Regions from separate parts of the Homo sapiens genome. Here regions 1, 2, 4 and 5 are each linked to region 3. Evidence: promoter capture Hi-C in 16 types of primary human blood cells and fetal thymus (Javierre and others, 2016). All regions are on one chromosome and are shown on one strand. The core of a region is centred on a gene start or on the middle of the fragment in contact, and the rest is flanking DNA. Distances in the headings are between cores, read along the strand shown.

Evidence for each region. Contacts are between HindIII fragments. The CHiCAGO score rates a contact against its expected background, and 5 or more counts as called.
Region 1: a contact is called between the fragment with the promoter of C1orf35 here and the fragment with the promoter of PARP1 in region 3, in 1 of 17 cell types (naive CD8 T cells). The highest score is 7.5, in naive CD8 T cells.
Region 2: a contact is called between the fragment with the promoter of GUK1 here and the fragment with the promoter of PARP1 in region 3, in 1 of 17 cell types (neutrophils). The highest score is 5.2, in neutrophils.
Region 4: a fragment that was not itself captured here is called in contact with the fragment with the promoter of PARP1 in region 3 in 3 of 17 cell types (M2 macrophages, M1 macrophages and M0 macrophages); the score reaches 6.9 in M2 macrophages.
Region 5: a contact is called between the fragment with the promoter of ARF1 here and the fragment with the promoter of PARP1 in region 3, in 1 of 17 cell types (neutrophils). The highest score is 6.8, in neutrophils.

The regions. Positions count from the first base shown.
Region 1 is chr1:228,101,837-228,104,628 of GRCh38, reverse strand. It overlaps C1orf35 (chromosome 1 open reading frame 35), which reads left to right and starts at 1,304. Exons shown (of 8, transcript NM_024319.4): 1 at 1,304-1,495; 2 at 1,580-1,730; 3 at 1,941-1,986; 4 at 2,069-2,151; 5 at 2,247-2,319; 6 at 2,464-2,549. The coding sequence starts at 1,402. RefSeq lists enhancers at 377-1,096, 1,097-1,817, 1,818-2,537, 2,538-2,792 and silencers at 1,540-1,809, 1,970-2,139, 2,390-2,469. The HindIII fragment of the contact is 8,620 bases long and covers 1-2,792 here.
Region 2 is chr1:228,138,847-228,141,546 of GRCh38, reverse strand. It overlaps GUK1 (guanylate kinase 1), which reads right to left and starts at 1,268. Exons shown (of 8, transcript NM_001159390.2): 1 at 1,184-1,268. The coding sequence starts at 1,244. RefSeq lists a silencer at 682-1,241 and enhancers at 1,252-1,481, 1,592-1,641. The HindIII fragment of the contact is 28,593 bases long and covers 1-2,700 here.
Region 3 is chr1:226,406,775-226,409,474 of GRCh38, reverse strand. It overlaps PARP1 (poly(ADP-ribose) polymerase 1), which reads left to right and starts at 1,382. Exons shown (of 23, transcript NM_001618.4): 1 at 1,382-1,665. The coding sequence starts at 1,546. RefSeq lists a cis regulatory region at 787, enhancers at 715-859, 1,038-1,167 and silencers at 1,198-1,457, 1,708-1,807. The HindIII fragment of the contact is 6,506 bases long and covers 1-2,532 here.
Region 4 is chr1:227,438,850-227,441,549 of GRCh38, reverse strand. No RefSeq gene overlaps it. Among named protein-coding and RNA genes, the nearest start is that of LINC01641, 47 kb to the right of the region's middle. The HindIII fragment of the contact is 6,782 bases long and covers 1-2,700 here.
Region 5 is chr1:228,081,270-228,083,969 of GRCh38, reverse strand. It overlaps ARF1 (ARF GTPase 1), which reads right to left and starts at 1,262. Exons shown (of 5, transcript NM_001658.4): 1 at 1,205-1,262. RefSeq lists silencers at 876-975, 1,006-1,825, 1,836-1,965. The HindIII fragment of the contact is 7,793 bases long and covers 1-2,700 here.

The sequences.
Region 1 (2,792 bases), core at 55-2,554, 1.7 Mb before region 3:
CTCTCTAGGTATGTCCGTGGGGGAGGGGGTTGGTGAATGGAATTTATATGAGGGTTTGAGGAATCTGGCTCAGGCTGAGTCCAGTTTCTTTCTGTGTTTTGAGCAACAACCTAGTTACTGTCATCTGTGCCTGGGAACGTTCATGGCTATGGCTCGGGTTCAAGTCTGCAGAGGAAATTATACAGTTGGCGAAGTCACAGAGTGGCCAAGGGACTCTGTTTCTCAGTCAGCACTGGGAATGAAAGTGGAAAGGGGAAGCAGGGGTACGTCACAACCTCCAAAATCAGGGTGCCCAGCACGCTGAGGTTCTGGTAAGGGGTTTCTTCCAGACTGCAGACTTCCTTCCCGCTGCCTTCACACAGTAGAAAGCTGCACAAAGCTCTTGGGGTCCCTTTTATGAAGGCTCTGTCCTCATGACCTAGTCACCTCCGAAGCACCAACGCCTTGGGGTGAGGATTTCACATGGGAGTTAGGGTGCACATTCAGTTTAACACGGCAGGGATAGGACCAGTGCTCTGAGGGTGTCTGGGTAGCTGCTGGTTCATCCAGAAGTTTACTGGGTAATACTCAGAAATTCCACAAATCATTAAGGTCATTACCTTGTTAAGCTCCCGATATGGAATCGCGACTAGCAGTGACCAATTGGCGGTGTTAACTAGGCGCATCTTGTGTGTTTTCTTTTTTCTTTTTTTATGAGACAGGGTCCGCTCACTCGTTCAGGTTGGAGTGCAGTGGCGCGAAGTCCTGGGTTCGAGATCCTCCCGCCTCAGCCTCAAAGCGTTGGGGCTACAGGGGCGCGCGCGCGCCTGGCCCATTTTAACTTCTTATTTTTGAGACAGTCTCGCTCTGTCGCCCAGGCGGGAGTGCAGTGGCGCGATCTCGGCTCACTGCAACCTCTGCCTCCCGGCTCAAGTGATTCTCCTGCTTCAGCCTCCTGAGTAGCTGGAATTACAGGTGTGCACCACCACACCCGGCTAATTTTTGTATTTGAGTAGAGACCGGGTTTCACCATGTTGGACAGGCTAGTCTCGAACTCCCGACCTCAAGCGATCCGCCCGCCTCGGCCTCCCAACTTGCTGGGATTACAGGCGAGAGCCACTCCGCCCGGCCCCGTTTTAACCATTTTTAAACTTCCAGTTCAGAGGCGTTCCCGCGCCCGGCAGGGTAGGCGCAGTGCGCAGGCGCCCAAAGCCGACGTGGAGGTGATGCGCGGGAGCACAGATCCGGGGCAGTGCGCTGCGCAGAGGCGCGCGGCGAAGCCGAGTGGGCGCGGGAGTGACGTCACGGCGCGCGACGCGGAGGCGGGGTCGGGCCTGGGTCCGACGGTAGTGGGTAGCGGGTCTCGGGTTGCGGGTTGCAGGTTGCAAGCCGCAGGCCCCAGGCAACTGCCTTCCCGGCGCCATGTTCGGCTCCAGTCGTGGAGGCGTGCGCGGCGGGCAGGACCAGTTCAACTGGGAGGACGTGAAGACTGACAAGCAGCGGGAGAACTACCTGGGTGGGTGCGCGCGGTGGGCGGGCTCCGGGCTCCGGGCTCCGGGATCCCGGGCGGGCGCTGGACTCACAGCGTCTACGTCCGCAGGCAACTCGCTGATGGCGCCGGTAGGCCGCTGGCAGAAGGGCCGCGACCTCACCTGGTACGCCAAGGGCCGGGCGCCATGCGCGGGCCCGAGCCGCGAGGAGGAACTGGCAGCCGTGCGGGAGGCGGAGCGCGAGGCGCTGCTGGCCGCCCTGTGAGTGTCCGCGGACGGCAGCGGTCGGTGCCTGGGACGGCGCTGCCGGGGCAGGGTGGGGCCGGGGCCGGGGACTGGGGGTCGGGCTGGGCGGGAGCGGGGCTGCGGGGACTCGCGCGGGCGGGACCCTGAGGACGAAGGCTGGAGTGGTGAGGACCTGTGGTGGGAGGAGGTCCGTCCGTCCTGACGCCTGCCCCGGCCCTCTCGCAGTGGCTACAAGAACGTGAAGAAGCAGCCCACGGGCCTGAGCAAGGAGGTAACTCCCCGGGGTGGGGGGCGCGTGGAGGGCCGTGGGTGTGGGGCCGACTCGAGCGCTCCCTGTGCTCTCGCACCTGCAGGACTTCGCGGAGGTCTGCAAGCGGGAAGGAGGCGACCCCGAGGAGAAGGGCGTGGACCGGCTGCTGGGGCTGGGGAGCGCAAGGTGCGGGCGGGTTTCCAGGGGAGGGCAGCACTGGGCTCGATTGCTCGGGTGAGGCGGACCCCTGCCGTACTGTCTTCATCGCCATGTCCCTGCAGTGGCTCCGTGGGCCGCGTGGCGATGTCCCGAGAGGACAAGGAGGCCGCCAAACTGGGGCTGTCTGTGTTCACGGTAATCCCCCGCCCCGCCTGACCGCAGCAGGGGCTAACAGGGGTGGGGCGGGGCGGGGGCACTGAACGGAGCTCCCCGGGGCGCTGCGGGGCGTGGTGTGGGGCCGGCCCGCAGACTCCTCCGCAGAGCTCGCTTCTCCCGCAGCATCACCGCGTAGAGAGCGGCGGGCCCGGGACCTCGGCAGCCTCGGCCAGGAGGAAGCCGCGGGCGGAGGATCAGACGGAAAGCAGGTGAGGCTGTGCCACCTGGGCTAGCTGTGCCCCGGGGTGGGGGGTCTCGGGAGGACCGGAGCGGCTCCCACTCGGGCAGGTGGCAGCTTCTCTTGGCGCACCGGCCCGGCGGGTGGCCTGCCCTACTTTACTTCCTGTCCCAGTTACTCCTAGGTTTTTCTCTAGGGGAGTTTCTCGGGTCACCCTTGAAGAGAGGTCCTAAGTACTGGCAGTGGTCGGGCGCTGTGCCGTGGGAGGGCACTC
Region 2 (2,700 bases), core at 19-2,518, 1.7 Mb before region 3:
AGAATTCAGCCCCCGCCTGGCCTCTCGTAAGACACAAACCACCAGACGTGGGCCTGGGCTCTGGGCTGGGCCAGGTGGATGAAGGGGAGGCTGGTGGTCCAGGCGGCTGCTCTTGGCTGCAGGGTTTCTGGGCACACATCCGGGTAGCACGCATCCTGGCCTTCAGCAACCTCGTTTTAAATGGGACCACACCAGGAGCAGCCAGGGCGCTTTCATTTTCACTTTCTTTCCCCGGGGGGGACAGGAACATTCCTTTACCTCCTGAGGAAATCGGGCTCTTCCAGAGCCACAGAGGAGTGAAGGCCCCAGCCCTTCACGATGCTGCGCGGCTATGTTTGGGTCTGTCCATCAGGGAGAAAGAAAAACCGGCCGAGTCTTGCACAGGGTCCTCGACAGCAACCCCAGGTAAAGAGCAGAGCAAGCCTGAGACAGGAAGGGGCCATGAGCCCAAAGACAGCAGAGCAGGACCCAGCCCGGGGCCTCAGGACCGACCTCTTTCATGCAAAGACGAAACCGAGGCCCACCACACGCAGGGTCAAAATCAACTTTGAGGCACCTGCTTCCCACACCAGTCCTTACTGGGGCATACTTCTAAGGCGACGCTCAAGAATGGCAGCAGGGCAGCTTCAAGAACCCCAACCCGGACTCTGGCTTTGGAGAATCCGAACCCCAAATGCCACACCCATGCGTCGGGAAGGCCTGCTGTTTCCCCAAGTCCCCGTCTCTGCGCCGTGCCGCGGAGTAGGCAGAATCCTGGGAGCCCCGGAATAGCCGGCTCCATCCGCCCAGGACCCCAAGGCTTGCAGGGTGAGGTGGGAACCGGAGCGCACACCGCGCCGGGCCAGCGGTAGGGACTCCCAGCTGCTCTCTTTGGCGGCGCGCCCAGGTGTCGGGAAGACACCGAGCGCTCCTATACGCCCGGGGAGCAGCTCGACACTGCGATAACTGCCGGCCTGCCCAGCTCCTGAGGAGCGCCCCGCCCTCCGGGACCCGGGCTCCGCTGCGTTGCCAGCCCGTCCGCCCTCCAGAGCTCCCCCGTTCTCAGGGCCCACAGTTGAATGCGGCACAGGGCGTCTCGGCTAGGAGGAGATCCGGAGGCGGCGTGGACTGGGCGACCGCAAAGCGCAGGGACCGCTGCCGCCTCGACCCGAGTCACCCTCGCGATCGCGCTTGTCGTACTCACCGTCCGGTGGGGCCCGGCCCAGGGCGGCCGCAGCCAGCCCGGCCAGCGGGCGCCGCAGCATCCGGGGCCACCTCTTCCGCCCACTGAACCTACGTGACAGCGCCGCACCGGCCCACCTCCGCCCGCGCGCGAGACTGACGTCATGAGGCGACTGCCCCGCCCATGTCTCACTCGTTCTTCCCCGCCCCTTAGGGAAGTACTTACCTCAGTGCCTCGCTAGCCCCGCCTCCACCTGCGCTGGCCTGTCGCGACCGCAGGGGCGTTCAGCACAGCGCCCTCCCAGCCCGTCTTCTCCCGCTGCGTCACAGCGCCACGCCGGCCCGCCTCCACACAGCGCGAACTAACATCACGACCCGCCGGCCCCGCCCACGGCGTACTTGTCCCGCTTGTCACTCAGAGAAGTACCTCAGTGCAGCGCGGGCCCGGCTTTCATCTGCTACGTCACAGCGCTGCCTCAGCCCGCCTCCTCCCGCTTATGTCACAGCGCCGTTTCCGTCCTCCATCTACACTGCAGGGACCTAACTAACGAACGACTCCGCTAGCCCGTTCCAAACCGGCCACTCTCCAAAAACCATTAATTGGGGAATGTGGCCGGGCGCGTGGTTCACGTCTGTGATCCCAGCTCTTTGGGAGTCCGAGCCGGGAGGACCGCTTGAGGCCAGGAATTGGAGACCAGCCTGGGGATCATAGGGAAACCCCTTCTGTACCAAAAAATTTAAAAACTTTTTTGTGCCTGTAGTCCTTGCTACTCGGGAGGCTGACGTGGGACGGTCGCTTGAGCCTGGGCAGTCGAGGCTGCAGTGAGCGGTGTTCGTGTCACTGCACTCCAGTCTGTGTGACAGAGCGAGACCCTATTTCTTTCTTTTTTTATTTTTTGAGACGGAGTTTCGCTCTTGTCACCCAGGCTGGAGTTCAGTGACGCCATCTCTGCTCACTGCAACCTGGGCCTCCTAGGTTCAAGCGATTCTCCTGCCTCAGCCTCCCGAGTAGCTGGGATTACAGGCGCCCGCCACCACGCCCAGCTAATTTTTGTATTTTTAGTAGAGACAGGGTTTCACCATGTTGGCCAGGCTGGTCTTGAACTCCTAACCTCAGGTAATCCACCAACCTTGGCCTCCCAAAGTGCTGGGATTACAGGCGTGAGCCACTGCACCTGGCCACGGGACTCTATTTCTAAAAATTATTTTAAATTTTTAAAAAAGATTTATTGAAGGCTGGGTGCAGTGGCTCACACCTGTAATGCCAGCACTTTGGGAGTCCGAGGCAGGCAGATCACCTGAGGCCAGGAGTTTGGGACTAGCCTGGCCAAAATGGTGAAACTCTGTCTCTACTAAAAATACAAAATCAGCTGGGTGTGGTCGTGGGCCCCTGTAATTCCAGCTACTGGGGTGGCTGAGGCAGGAGGATCACTTGAACCTGGGAGGTGGAGGTTGCAGTGAGCCGAGATCAAGCCACGGCACTCCAGCCTAGACGACAGAATGAGACTCCGTCTCAAAAAAAAAAAAAAAAAGTATTGA
Region 3 (2,700 bases), core at 133-2,632:
TGTGCCCAGCCTACCTTCAACGTATCTAACTGGTTACTAACTTTTAGGATTCGGCCTATGTCTCACAACCTTCTTGCTTACTCAACATCCTTGTCTCTTAAGCCACTAGCTTCTTCTCTATGGTTAACACTTTTTATGAGTTTTATTCATCTGCTTATTTTTCTTATCCTCTATACCAGAATTGAATATTTTCAAATAAAGCACACTCATGTTACAATCTTTGAAATGAAAAAAAAAAATGCATAGGATTAGAAAAGAAACCAATTTTAATAAACTATATTTTGAAGTATAGTTCTATATTAAACAACAAGATCTAGGCCAGGTGCAGTGGCTCATGCCTGTAATCCCAGCAATTTGGGAAGTCGAGGTGGGAGGATTGCTTGAGGCCAGGGGTTCAAGACCAGCCTGGGCAACATGGAGAGATTCCCCATCTCTTTCTTTACACACACACACACACACACACACAAAATATCTGATAGCAACAGGTGCAGTCATTACCACAATTTCGAGTAGTGATGAGCTTAATAATATTTCGAGTTATCACCAACAACTGTAAAGTAACATGAAAACGTCTGTGATGACTATTGCCCACAAAGTCACAGGTACTGCTAATACTCCTGGTATTTGTAGTCAAATTCATAATAAAGGAAATGCTAGGTTTCAGTTGGTATTTTGTCCCGACGGTCTGTGGACGGCAGGTTAGAACGCCCGTCCAAGCCAGGAGGGTGGACCTAGCACTGCAGGGTCCACCTCGGGCCAATCAACTATATTCCCGAGGCGGGGGCCTGCGCTTCCCGGACCCAGCTGCCCTCAGGGGAGAGAGGACACACTTAAGAGTTTGGGGCCGGCGTGGTAGCTCATGCCCCTGATCCCAGCACTTCGGGAGGCTGAGGCGTGAAGATCACTTGTAGCAGGAGTTTGAGACCAGTCTAGCCAACTTGGCGAGACCCTGTCCCTAAAAAAAATTTTTTTTTAATTAGCCAGTTGTGGTGAGCGCCTGTAGTCCCAGCTACTCGGGAGGCTGAGGTGGGAGGATCGCTGGGCTCAGGAGTTCCAGACTGCAGTGAGCCATGATGGCGGCACTGCACTCCAGCGCGGTGAGACTCAGTCTCAAAAATAAAAGGGGGAGGGGTTGGGGGTAAAATTAGTTGTGAAATCAAGTAAGACTTCCTGGGACAGAACAATCAAAGGGGTGGCGCCGGGTCCTCCAAAGAGCTACTAGCTCAGCCCAAGCCCCGCCTCGGCCCCCAGGGCAGCGGCCCGCAGAGCTCCACCCGGCAGGCGCCCGGGAAACTCCGCCCCCCGGCCGGCAGGGGGCGCGCGCGCCGCCGGCCCCGCCCCGTGGACGCGGGTTCCGTGGGCGTTCCCGCGGCCAGGCATCAGCAATCTATCAGGGAACGGCGGTGGCCGGTGCGGCGTGTTCGGTGGCGGCTCTGGCCGCTCAGGCGCCTGCGGCTGGGTGAGCGCACGCGAGGCGGCGAGGCGGCAGCGTGTTTCTAGGTCGTGGCGTCGGGCTTCCGGAGCTTTGGCGGCAGCTAGGGGAGGATGGCGGAGTCTTCGGATAAGCTCTATCGAGTCGAGTACGCCAAGAGCGGGCGCGCCTCTTGCAAGAAATGCAGCGAGAGCATCCCCAAGGACTCGCTCCGGATGGCCATCATGGTGCAGGTGCGGGCCGCTGTGCGGGCGGCGGGGCGGGGACGCGGCGCCCCGGGTTAACTGTGTCCGGGAAGGCTGGGGGAGGGCGGGCCCAGGGAGCGAGCGGGCCCGGGCCCTCGGAGCGGCACTTGGGGCCTATGGGGCCGCGGCCGCCCCTCCTCCCGAGCGGCCCGGCCGACCCTTCCGGAAGGTTTTGCTGATGTTGCAGGAAAAGCCCGGGAAATAAAGTCTGCAGCTGGTGTTGCCTTTCGCTTTGTGAAAACGAGGAGCCTCTTCTCTTCTCCTTTCTGGGTGGCGGTGTTTTATTACTGCCGTTCGCCTCAGGGGTTGGGGGGGAATTGTACATGGTCTCTTTAAGCTAATCTGATTTTGACCTATCTTGTTCTGGAGGGTTTTTGTTCTACATGGATGGTGGCGACTGACATGTGGGTTTTTTTTTTTTTTGTTAAACCTATTTTTGGCAGTCATTTCAACACGTCATTTAAACGCTCACTCTCATTTTTTATTTTAATTAGGCAGAACTATGCAGAAAGGTGTCATTTCTGTACAGTACATTCACTTTGAGCCTAATTTGTGCTTTAAAGTAACATTTTCCCCAAATTTTCCAGATTCACAGACGCGTTCTCTTGGTGCATTTGCAGCTGTCTGGTTTGAGTAAGAGTGGCTCCAGGGGGGTTTCTCATGTGGGCTTTTTGATAGATTGAATCCCCTTCTGAGGTTTCCTGAGCCTTCTGTGAGGTGGTGGGCTTGAAGGCCCCTGTCATTTCCCAGGGGCTCCTGCCTCCAGCTTCCAGTTTGCCGATGTCTACCTTTGTATTAATAATTCTGGTTCTCATCTGCCCTGTTCCTCCTCGCTTCCAACATATTACCCAAGCTTAGTGCTCATGGTCAAGGTAGCTTGATTTTCCTCCCTTCCATGAGCTGTAATGTGTTTTAGGAATGACCAGATATCCCTCAGTGGATTTTCAGTACTTAGTACAAGGGAGGGCGACATTTACCGAGTGGATACCCAAGTGCCAGGTGTACTTCCGTTATCTTATTTCA
Region 4 (2,700 bases), core at 122-2,621, 1.0 Mb before region 3:
CTGTGTTAGCCAGGATGGTCTCGATCTCCTGACCTCGTGATCCGCCTGCCTCGGCCTCCCAAAGTGCTGGGATTACAGGCGTGAGCCACCGCGCCCAGCCAGGATAAATATTTTAAATTTTGTTCCCCTTCAGCAATGGAATGCACTTGTCAAAGAACAGAAGACACACCCTCAGAGCTGCAGGAGTTATCATTTCAGAAGTTCTGGATGTTGCCACAGGGGCTGCCATGGTGACTGTAAAACTGGTTGAATCAGAGCAAAGATGACAGCCCTTCCTGCCTGCTCCTTGGCCAGCTCAGCTCCCTGTGACCTTGTCCTCTGGAAAGCAGCCCTCCAGCCTCCACACTTCCATGTTTTCCCCACCCTGGGTAGAAGCACTAATAGCTCATGATTCTTACTTCAGTGCATGTTCTTACTGCCCCTCTGCTTTGATGGGTAACACCAAGCAGATAGTCCAAGGTCAGCCAGCGAGGGAATGCCCTGGGTAACAGTTCTTTCTTGTGGGTCTTCCAGCGTTTGGCCTCAACTCCATAAACAGCGATGGGAAAGCCTCACACTTTCTTGATCTGCAGCCGGATTTCTGTTGAACCAGCCTGATTTCTTTCCTGCTCTCTTCAGAGGGTAGGGGGTTGTCCTAAAGCATATTCTGTTTTCCCCAAGGAAACGAGCTGGCTTCCTCTACAGCTATTTTTCTGCTCTTCATTACTTGTAAATTTCAACTCTCCAGCCTCCAGCTACGCAAATTTACAAACTATTATTAGTGGCTCTGTGGAAACTTCATATTTGAAATGTTTTCTGATAAAAGAATGGGGACATTCTTTGTTAAAAAATTATTTCAGAAATACTTAGCTCATTTCTCCCTATTCTAGCTGTTTTCCTCTTTGTTTCCCAGCTCACTGCCAGATGCAGTTTTTCACAGCTTTGCAAAACTGCTGTTTAATTTGACACAGTGTTAACAGTTATTAATCAAGGTGGTGGGAATATAGGTTTCAGTTACAGTATTATTTAGACTTTTCTGTAACTTTCATATTTATCAGAAAAGAACAACCATACGATAAATGGCTTTTTGTCCTCTTTTCACGGGGTTCTGTTGGTGGTTCTGTTGCTATCTCAGTTCCCAAGCTGTTAGCAGGACCACGCTGTTTCCTTTGTGTACAACGAGATCTCAGTGTTCCAGGGCGGTGTTTCTCCCACCTAACAGCCCAGACTTGCCAACCATTCTTGCTGGATTAGGAAATGAACTACTGATCCTAAAGATTAGAAAACAAAATAGGGAGATATAGGGTCCCCAAGGACTTCTCTATTTAACTCTACCTCGGATTACTAGCTTTGTTCCAACAACTTTGCTTCAGTTCCCGGAGAAAATAACCAGGCTCTTGAGGTGGGCTGACCCCACTAAAGCTGCTGGGGTGGTCTGGACCAAAACGCCACATCATATGACATTTGAGGGAGTTGAAGTTACAGGAGGAAGGTGTTGATTCCAGAGCTTCACGTTTTAGCTAGACTTGGTTACACCCTTGTTTGACATCTTTTAGCCAACAAACTGCATCCTTGTATGCGCTTTCAGCATCTGCATTTGGAACAGTTGTCAAGCTCGTGTGTGTATCAGAATCACCCAGAGAACTTGTTAAAATGCAAATTTGTGGAACCCACCCCCAGAGTTTCTGATTCAGTAATAATGGGATGAGGCCTGAGGCTTTGCATTTCTTTTTTCTTTTCTTTTTTTTTTTTTTTTGAGATGGAGTTTCACTCTTGTTGCCCAGGCTGGAGTGTAGTGGCACGATTTCGGCTCACTGCAACCCCTGCCTTCCAGGTTCAAGCAATTCTCCTCCCTCAGCTCCCAAGTAGCTGGGATTACAAGCTGTGCCAGCACGCCCAGCTAATTTTTGTATTTTTAGTAGAGACAGGGTTTCACCATGTTGGTCAGGCTGGTCTCGAACTCCTGACCTTAGGTGATGCATGCACCTTGGCCTCCCAAAGTGCTGGGATTACAGGTGTGAGCCACCGCACCTGGCTCAGGCTTTGCATGTCTAACAAGCTCCCAGGGGACGCTGATGCTGCTGATTGGGAACAACAGTTTAAGAACCACTGATTTAGGAGACAGGACTGGTGGTTGTATCTTACCTGTGGGCTGGGGTGAAAATAAAGGTCAAGAGGGGAACAGATGTGGTGTTTTGTACAGTTCTGTGAGTTGTTTTTTTTTTTGTTAGTTTGTTTTTCGAAGAGAAGTTTGCTGTCTGTCACCCAGGCTGGAGTGCAGTGGCTTGATCATAACTCACTGCAGCCTAGAATTCCTGGGCTCAAGGGATCCTCCTGCCTCAGCTGCCTCAGTAGCGACTGGTCTCAAACCCTTGGGCTCAAGCAATCCTCCCACCTCAGCCTCCCAAAGTGCTGAAAGTACAGGCACCAGCCACTGTGCCTGGCCCAGTTTTGTGTTTTTACATATGCTTATAACTTAGCAGTACACGATTTCCATTACTCCGTGCTCCAGTAGTTGTGGGAAAGAGAGGCACTGTTTGGGAAGGGGCACATCAGTGTGTATCCCAACCCAGAAGCTATATTCTCTGCTCTTATAGTGACCCTGTCCACGCCCTGGTTGGAAATCAACTTGAAATTTGCATCTCTAGATTTTTTTTAAGTGTACTAATACGTGTCTCAAAATTTCACAGCACAACTGGTGTTCGAAGCCATGTTTTGGGG
Region 5 (2,700 bases), core at 13-2,512, 1.7 Mb before region 3:
AGGGGCAGTGGCACCAACTCTACAGCTCTCAACTAGGCGGCGACTTCGGGGACCATCCAAAGCCTCCGACCTCCCTTCTTTTCCTGCCCGCGATTCCGAGTGCATTTCTGCTCAATTCCTGCAAAGCAGCAACTGGCTGCCTGGACTGAAAGGGAGTGCCAGGAGGTGCCGTCGGAATGGTTATTTAACACTCTAGGTGCGCACGGCTGTCCAGCCCCAATCTCACACGCCGTAACCACCCAGGCTGTGCTCCGAGAGAGCGCTGGGGCCGGCCTCTGCGGCCTAGAGTCTGCGAGCAGGTCGTTCCGCAGGCAGGTTAAAGATTCAGGTAGGTTAAAGATTCACCAGCTCAGAAGAGGCCTTCTTATCTACTGCCGACAACGTCAAGGAAACCACCCTGGAGTTAAAGCGAAGATCGACCGGCCCTCTGGAGGCCACCGGTGCCCTGAGTGCTGACCCCAAATTGCGTCTCACTGGTGTGAAGGGAGGCACTCTGGGCTCCCCCGGAGGTCCACGCATTCCGTTCAGCAGACAGGGAAGGGCACGGGGTTCCTGTCCACCTGCCCGCCCGCTCTCACCACCCCTGACCCGGTACCGTCTTCACAGCAAACACGAACTGGATGGAGTCGGGAGGCGAAGATGCAAGCCCCCACCACCTACATGACCTTGACGGCGTCTCAGGCCGCCCGAGCCTCAGTTTCCCGGTCCCCGAGGCGGGGGTCCGCCCGGATGCCGCTCGCTCGCCTGTACTCGGGTGGGGGAGGCCCCACGACCCCCACCGGCCCCCGCGGCCGCTAATCCCAACCGTCCACGCGCGGGCGGCCTCGGGAAACGAGAAAGGCAGAGGCGAGGGAAGCAGGAAGCCCAGGTTTCCTGGAGAAGAGCCCGGCGTCCAAGCGGACTTCCGGGCGACGGGCGGGGGCAGGGACAGGCAGAGGAGGACAAGCGGCCGCGAGCGACTTCGGGAACCTGTGAGGGGTGCGAGGAGCTCACCGACCCGCCCGTCCGCCCAGCCCCGACTCCGGCCGGGCCCCAGCCTCAGCCCGGCCCGTCTGCGTCCGCCCCCGGCCCGGCCCTGTCGCCGCCGCCGCCGCGGGGGTCGACGTGCCCTTCGCGAACCTCAAGTCGCCCCGAGGCCAGTCCCCAGCCCCCGCCGGCTCCAACGTCTCTGCGGCCCACACCGGCCCGCGCCCCTCGCCCTCACCTCAGAGGCTGCTGCTCCGAGCCAGGCGTTGGTTTTGCTCCCACAAGATGGCGGCTCTGACGGCGGCCACGTCAGCGCCTCCGGGCGCGGGGCACGCCGGGTAAGGGGCGGAGACGCCGGGAACTCCGCCCACCGTGCGCCCGCGACGCAGGCGCGCTGGCTCCGGTAGGGCTGCAGGGGGCGGGGCCGGGGACACCCTGCCCCGGGCCGCGGTCTTAGCTCGCGCGCACCCTAGGGGCGCGCACCCGTCTGCGCCTGCGCCTGTGAGTCTTCCGCGAAGACAGCCTGTGGCTCACTCCCGCCCGTTTGGCGTATTTGGAGACTGAGGCCCGGGGGGCTCCTGCAGCAACTGGAGCTGCGGGGCTGGTTGCCACCTTCCTCCTCCCACACCCGGCAGTCACCGGGAGGCCTCGGGGACTGCGTGAGGACGGGGGTGCGAGGCGCCCCTCGCCGGGGTTGGGGTTCCTGGCTCCCAGGCTGCGCGGGTCCACGTGCCCCGGCCCTGTGGAAACCTGTGGCACTCGCGGGGCCACGGCGGAAGGTCCGAAGGCGGGAGGCTTGCTGTGTCCCCGCACTGGCCTCGGCGCCCCGGCGGCCGCAGTGACGCGCGGGCTCATACCTGGGCCCGGAGCAGACGCCGGGGAGCTGGCCGCAGATGAAGCAAAGGAGGAGGTGGCCTGGGGACCCCGGGGTGAGGCGGGGGCCGTGGGGGTGGGGCCCAGGGTTGGGGACGGCCGCCCAGAAGGGAGGTCACAGTGGTCTCTAATGAGCTGGCCTTTAAGCTGAGATCCAGTTGAGGCGGAGGAGATCCCGCTCTCAGGCACCTGAACAGAGGACCGTTGCAGTCCCTCTGTGTTCCGTGTGCTGGAGGCCTGGCTCTGCCCACCACCCTCAGGTCTTCTTGCCTCTTCCCTTGTGCTGCTGTGAGGGGTTGGGCTTGTGGGAAAGTGTCCCTGCAGCACAGTGCCCTGGGTATTGTGGAGGTCGGGAATCAACCTGATTTGTGCAGGCCGAGGCCCGGGGGCAGGGCCTGAGGGGTGGGATCACTGGGCCTGGCCCAGGCCTCCTGCGCCCCTTTGCTGCCCCCATCACCTACGTTGCTTGCCCCTTGGGCAGGGCGTCCTCACTGCCTCTGGAGGCTGCGATGGGCAGATCTCTCCCCCAGGGCTGCACCTGCGGGGGCTACGAAGGTCCCCAAAAGCGGTGACCCTCCTGCCCCCAAATTTAGTCCCTTTTTCTGCCTGGGGCTCCCTTCCGAAATCTCACCTCTGTGAAGCTGTGGCAGGGTTGTCTGTTTAGGGGAAGGACGTCTCCCACCCTACAGGCATCTCAGATACTCTTGGAAAGCCCCAGGGAGGGTTGTGGATGCCTGTGGAACCTTCTGGTTGTGCTGCCTCTCCCTGCTCAGCCAGAGCGGGGCCATGTGCGGACATTTCACGGGGGTTACATGTGGTTATGGCCTCTTTAGGGCTGAAGGGACCTGGCTTTGGTTCTCT